Regions from separate parts of the Homo sapiens genome. Here region 1 is linked to region 2. Evidence: promoter capture Hi-C in human tissues and cell types (Jung and others, 2019). All regions are on one chromosome and are shown on one strand. Each heading gives the region's core, a stretch centred on a gene start or on the middle of the fragment in contact. The rest is flanking DNA. Distances are from core to core; before and after follow the strand shown.

Evidence for each region. Contacts are between HindIII fragments. The study calls those that stand out against the background at their distance.
Region 1: a fragment that was not itself captured here is called in contact with the fragment with the promoter of C3orf18 in region 2 in 1 of the 25 tissues and cell types used here (stomach).

What each region holds. Positions count from the first base shown.
Region 1 is chr3:51,592,777-51,596,094 of GRCh38, reverse strand. All of the region lies in intron 3 of RAD54L2 (RAD54 like 2), which reads right to left. Among named protein-coding and RNA genes, the nearest start is that of RAD54L2, 56 kb to the right of the region's middle. RefSeq lists a silencer at 2,421-2,624. The HindIII fragment of the contact is 4,263 bases long and covers 1-3,318 here.
Region 2 is chr3:50,566,386-50,569,736 of GRCh38, reverse strand. It overlaps C3orf18 (chromosome 3 open reading frame 18), which reads left to right and starts at 1,990. Exons shown (of 6, transcript NM_016210.5): 1 at 1,990-2,274. HEMK1 (HemK methyltransferase 1, mitochondrial release factors N(5)-glutamine) reads right to left here and starts at 215. Exons shown (of 11, transcript NM_016173.5): 1 at 163-215. RefSeq lists an enhancer at 291-410 and a silencer at 1,849-2,358. The HindIII fragment of the contact is 29,907 bases long and covers 1-3,351 here.

The sequences.
Region 1 (3,318 bases), core at 763-3,262, 1.0 Mb before region 2:
TAGCTGGGCATGGTGACGCACACCTGTAGTCTCAGCTACCTGGGAGGCTAAGGTGGGAGGACCACCTGACCCTGGGGTGCTGCAGTGAGTCGTGATCACGCCACTGCACTCCAGCCTGGGTGATCCTGGGTGAGACCCTGTCTCAAAAAAAAAAAAAAGAAGACTGAATGAATGAAAGAAAGAAAAACTATTATATAAGGAAAGCCAATCCCAGAGGTATCACATTTTGAACCCCTACCTTTAATAACAACAGACCCTAAACGTGTTAACACCCAACTTTCCCTACCATTCTGAAAGAACAGAGAAAGCTAAGGACAGATATCAGGAGAAAAGAAAAAGAGGGGGATGAAAAACCAAATCCAAAATGTCTCACAACATGTCATGGGTCCTTTAACATGTTATAAACAAAAAACACTACCTTCTCCTCACTTGAAGGTTGGTTTGAAGACAAAGTCATGGTGCTGTTCTCCAACAGCCAAACCTCCGTGTTCTATAATAACCAGTTCTTGCACTACTATCCCACTACTCAACATACAAAGGTCAGTATCAAGGAGGAAACAATGGCCTGACTTATTGTACCAAAGCCAAAAATATCTTTCACTCCCCCATCCACTCCCTATCCTGTTCATCCCACCTTTGTAAAAGATCTCATGATCTTCCTGGGCTTTTACCCATCCCTCTTCAATCTGCCCTACAAATCCAGTAAGTCACCAAGTCCTATAAAATCCAGTGCAACAAGTCTGACCATTTACTCCTCTTGTGTGATCGACTGACACAAACAGTTCTAATCCTCATTACCCTTTCCCATAGAGTTCTACTACAGACCTAACTGATCCTCCCTGTCTACAGGCCATGTCTTTGATACAGTGCTAGAGTACCATTCCTGAAGTCAAAGGTCTGATGGATGCTCCTCAGTAAAAGGGCCCATCGGCCAGGCACGGTGGCTCATGTCTGTAAGCCCAGCACTTTGGGAGGCTGAGGCGTGTGGATTAATTGAGTTCATGTGTTTGAGACCAGCCTGGCCAACATGGTAAAACTCTGTCTCTACTGAAAATACAAAAAATCAGCAGGATGTGGTGGCGCGTGCCTGTAGTCCCAGCTACTCAGGAGGCTGAGGCAGGAGAATCGCTTGAACCTGGGAGGTGAAGGTTGCAGTGAGCCAAGATTGTGCCACCAGCCTGGATGACAGAGCGAGACTCCGTCAAAAAAAAAAAAAAAAAAAAAAAAAAAAAAAGCGCCCATCAATTCCATGTTGCCTATAAAACAAATTCTAAACTACTCCATGATCTAACCATAGGTCATCTCTCCAGTCTCACTCTGGTGATTACCCCTCTTGTGTCCAGTGCATTAACAAATAAGACGGCTCATCATTCCTTAGCATTTGCCATACTTTCCCTTCTACTTTGCCTTATACCTCCTGTTACTTCTAACTGTCCTTCCACCTCTGCTCAACAATAATTAACAATCACCTTCTTCCCTCAAAGCAGAAACTAGGAAAGAAAGCAAACACATCACAGGAAAGGCGATTATAAGAATCTATGGTCTCAGAAGCAGCATTGGTTTGAAAAAGGAGCAATGCCTTGAAGACCAAAAGTCCAGCTTTGCCAATTTCTTGCTAAGTTATACTGAGTAAGCCACTCACCTTTCTGAGCCCCAGTTTCCCCATCTGTAAAATGTATCTACCCTACCTAACATACAAGATTATCCAGACAATTAAGTATGGGCCGGGCACAGTGGTTCATGCCTGTAATCCCAGCACTTTGGGAGGCCAAGGCAGGAGGATCACCTGAAGTCAGGAGTTTGAGACCAGCCTGGCCAACATGGTGAAACTCTGTCTCTACTAAATACAAAAACTTAGCCAGGCATAGTGGTGCATGCCTGTAATTCCAGCTACTACTCGGGAGGCTGAGGTGGGAGAACTGCTTGAACTCAGGAGGTGGAGGTTGCAGTGAGCTGAGATCATGCCACTGCACTCCAGCCTGGGCAAAAGAGCAAGACTCCATCTCAAAAAAAAAAAAAAAAAAAAAAGAAAAAGAAAAAAGAAAGACAATTAAGTATGATAAAGTGTGTCAAAATGCTTATGGGGGGATGGAGCTAAAGCTTACAGGGAAAATTATACCTTTAAATGCTTATATAGAAAAAAAATCTAAAAATTAATGAGCTACGCACATTCTTAAGAAGTTTGAAAGAAAGCTTTAAATATTTACGTAGAAAAACATCTGAAAATTAATAAGCTACGCGCATTCCTAAGAAGTCTAAAAGAAAGGCAAAATAAACCCAAAAGAAACAGAAAATTAGAAAGTAGAAATTACAAAGAAAACAAACACAATACACCAAACCCAAAAGACAGTTTTTTGAAAAGAATAAGATTGTTCACATGCTTGTGTAAACTATGACAAACAATATAAAAGTAAGCTGTGGTTATCCAGTAGAGATGAAACTTCAAATAAAAAGGGCTGAAGTGGCCGGGCACAGTGGCTCACGCCTGTAATGCCAGCACTTTGGGAGGCCGAGACGGACGGATCACGACGTCAGGAGATCAAGACCATTCTGGCTAACACGGTGAGACCCCGTCTCTACTAATAATACAAAAAATTAGCCACGCATGGTGGTGGGCGCCTGTAGTCCCAGCTACTCAGGAGGCTGAGGCAGGAGAATGGCGTAAACCTGGGAGGAAGAGGTTGCAGTGAGCCGAGATCGCGCCACTGCACTCCAGCCTGGGCGACAGAGCAAGACTCCATCTCAAAAAAACATAAAAAAAAAAAAAAAGGGGCTGAAGTAAGTTTCTTTTGTGAAATGGTTTCTCAGATCTCAGTACTATTGACATTTGGGACAGATAATTGTTGGGGTGAGCTAGGGGCTCTCCTATGCATTGTAGGATGTTTAATAGCATCCTCAGCCTCTATCCACAAGATGACAGTAGCATCCCCACCCCACCCCCAACAATCCTGACAACCAGTGTCTTCACACATTGTAAACTGTTCCCTAAGAAGCAAAATCATACCAGGTTGAGAACCACTGCTCTAAGAAAACAAAAGGGCCACATCACACTACACCAACTAAAACTAGATTATTCATAGCTATTCTTACTAGTAGAATAGCTAGCTGCTCTGCCCATGACTACGGGATGGCAGCAAGGACAAGACTAAAGAAATAGGCAGGTTTTGGATTTTTCAGGAAAACTGCATAGAGTGCTCAACATGAGAGGAAAAGAAAAGCTTTAGGCCGGGTGTGGATCACGCCTGTAATCCCAGCACTTTGGGAAGCCGAGGCAGGTGAATCACCTGAGGTCAGGAGTTCAAGACCAGCCTGGCCAAA
Region 2 (3,351 bases), core at 741-3,240:
GTAAACTCCCTCACAGCTACGCACCGCATTGTTAACGACCCAGATGAGGCCCCCTCTCTCCAACCCTGTTTCCCCATCTGCACTATGGAGAATGGTACCGGCCAGGTCTCCAGGCGGTTGCAGTCGAAACACCCCGTTCCGATCCCCACCTCCCATGCATACCTGCCTGAAAGGCTGCCCCACCCACCCACCAGCCGGAGAAGCTGCCCCGAACTGGACGCCCGGACGTGCGTGGCCCGTCGCGCGCTCCCTCGGACGCCCCGCTTCCGGGGTCGGCGCCTTTAAGAAAAGGCTCGGGCGGACGCCGTAGCCCAGCTTCAGTGTTCCTATCGCTGGTGGGTTCCTCCCAGGAGACCCCTGCGGATGGGTGGGGAGGCTGTGAATTCCACTCCCTCTACGCTCGCAGGCCTGCATACAGGAAAGTGCGGGGATGTGTGTGGGGTTGACCCTTGGGGGCCCGGACCTGCCGGTCTTCCTTAAAATCACAGCAGGGATTTGGCTCCAGCCCAAGGGGATTGCTCCGAGCTGGCGTTTAGGAACCAGGCCGGGAGGTGTGTGGGCGGAGCCCAGTAGCCTGCCGGAAAGGGGGCGTGTCACCAGAGGGCCCGGGTGTTCCGGCGGGGACCAGATGTCCGGGGGCGTGGTCTATCTTAGCCTGGGGGCCGGGTGGAGCTGTGCATGGGCGGGTTCCAGTGTTGAAGGCTGGTCCAACTTTGGGGTCCAGTCCCAGTGTCGTGACCCTACCGAGGTCAGTGGCCCGAGCCCACCAGGGGGTCGGCCGACTGGCGGCCAGACCCCAGGGGCCGCTCTTTTACCGATTCGAATCTTGACTCTATTGGCAACTCCTCCAGGTGTTGGGACCTCTGGACCTCAGTTGCGCCTTCTATAAAATACTCGGCAGCGTCTCGCAAAGTGTGTCTTGTCAACATCTCCCCACCAGAAAGTACTGTTAACTAGAACACTGTTAACTACTTTTTTTTTCTTTTTTTCTTTTTTTTTTTTTTTTTTTTTGAGACGGAGTTTTGCTCTTGTTGCGCAGGCTGAAGTACAATGGCGCGATCTCTGCTCACTGCAACCTCGGCCTCCGGGTTCAAGCCATTCTCCTGCCTCAGCCTCCCAAGTAGCTGGGATTACAGGCGTGAGCCAACACGACCGGCTAATTCTGTATTTTTAATAGAGACAGGGTTTCACCATGTTGGTCAGGCTGGTCTCGAACTCCTGACTTCAGGTGATCCATCGCCTCGGCCTCTCAAAGTGCTGGGATTACAGGAGTGAGCCACCACGCCCGGCCTTAAACTGCTATTAAACATGCTGTTTCCCTGCCTCCTTCCCAGACCGGGAGACACAGGGGCGTTTGCATTTGTACCAGGCTACCCGGTGACTCCCATAAACTACTTTGAAAACCGGCGGATCAGGAGTATCTGAGGGCTCCTTCCCTGAGCTGATCATGCCGTGGATGGAAGCTATTGTGAGGGTATATGTAGACTTGCCTGGGTCGGGGTGCCCAATAATAAATCCACCCCACTCTCAACTTCTGTAGACGAAGATTCCCCATCTTCGTCTAGAACCCTCACACCAGAGGACCCGTCTGAGTAGAAAGCCAAGGTTCAGGAAGGGAAAAGCAGTTTCTTCAAGGTCACAAAGTCAGCCAGAGTTCAGTGCAGGCCCAAGGACTCCCAGTCCAGTGCTCTCCCCAAGTCTCCTCTGTACATCCATCCGCGTTTTGGGGGCTTGAGTCTGTCCTGGCACGGGTAGCTGGCAGGGGTCCCGAGTTCTGGCCCGGAAGGGCCTGGCCACCCACTGTCCTCCGCCCAACTTCGGCGCAGGCCACGGGGTGAGGGTAGTCTCTAAAAACTGCGACCAGGTTCTAGGCTCCCTCTGGGGGTGGAGCCAGACCCGAGCGACAAGCGAACGGTCCAATTCTGGGCGGGCTCTAGGCCCGACAGCCAATCGGAGGCCGGGGGCGCGGAGCGTGCAGGGAGGCAAGGCGCTGTAGCTTCGGGGATCCCCCGAGGCTGCTCGGCCCGGCCCCACCTCCGCCGTGGGTCCCGGCCCTACCCACCCTAGCTCAGGCCGGCAGAGCCAGCGCTCGCGGATGCGGCTGGTGCGCAGTAGCGGGCCTGGCCAGCGGCTCGGGGCTTGCAGGGAGGGCGGATCTCGGGTCGGACCCGCAGCCCCAGACGCCGGGCTTGGGGGTTCCCCCCGCCCCGGCCTCCTGCCAGTCACTACCACCCCTAGCCTCTCCAACTGAGCTCGGCGCCGGGAGAGGATTAAGTAAGTGCTGAGGTCACTGCTCCTGTGCAAGAAGGGAGGCATCACAGGGTCGCGGAGGCGGGCATGGGGATTGGGGCAGGGAGGACTGAGAGACCTGGTGGAGAACAGCATGCGGGTTCTCGAAGGTCGCGGTGCCGACCCCTTTTACCCCGGTTTCCTTCCCTTCCCCTTTGGACCCTGAGGCAGGCCTGGAAAGTGGTCAGTAGGGCCTCTTCTCTCCTTTGGGAGGCGATGTTAACAGAGCCCCAGGGCACGAGTTAAGGGTTTGGCCCAAGGTCACGCCCGGGATCAGTTGCAAAGCCAAGAAAAGAACCCGGGACTTCCTATGTGCCCAGATGTGCCCAGCCTAGCTGGAGGGAGAAGGCAAAGAGGGATGAGCCTTTCTACCCCATAACCCTCTGCCAGCCTTGCCCCTTCCTCAGGGACCATCAGAGGTGTTTACACATCTCACACACGCCCATGCATCTGCACAGGGAGGCAACCCCACTAATGCCCATGAACCAGCACAGGGGGATGTATGCACCCACGAGCTAGGTATCCCTCCTCTCCCTAGGCCGTCCCATCTGCAGCTTGGCTGGCACCTCTTCCCACCCCACCTTAACCAGGGCCCTCTGCACTGGGCAAATCTCTCACCCTCTGCTTCCAGGGGAGGAGGGTAAAGGAAGAGAAGGCACCCACACTGGGAGCTCCATTCCTGCCTCGCCTTTCTCCTTGACCCTAGCAGCCCCTCTATTGTTGGTGGGTGGGGAGGGCAGTCCAATGTCCCCGAGAGCCTGCGGAGAAGCCCCGCCAGAGAACCAGAGCCTCTCTCTCCTTCTTGTCTTCTGGTCTTTCCACATCAGCCTCCACCCACACTCCAAGCATAGTCTGGACCATACAGTGGACTGGGTCCAGGGGCTCCCTTGGCTCCCCTTTGTGACTGGGTTGGCCATGGGGAGAAAATCTAACATGTAGTGGATGCTTACTGTGGATGGGGGTTGTGCTGAGCTAAGTCTTTCTTCGACACCTGTTTGTTCTGCCATTTCTGTAACCCCATGACCCTGTGGGGATGTTCTCAATATCCCCACCTTAGACTCA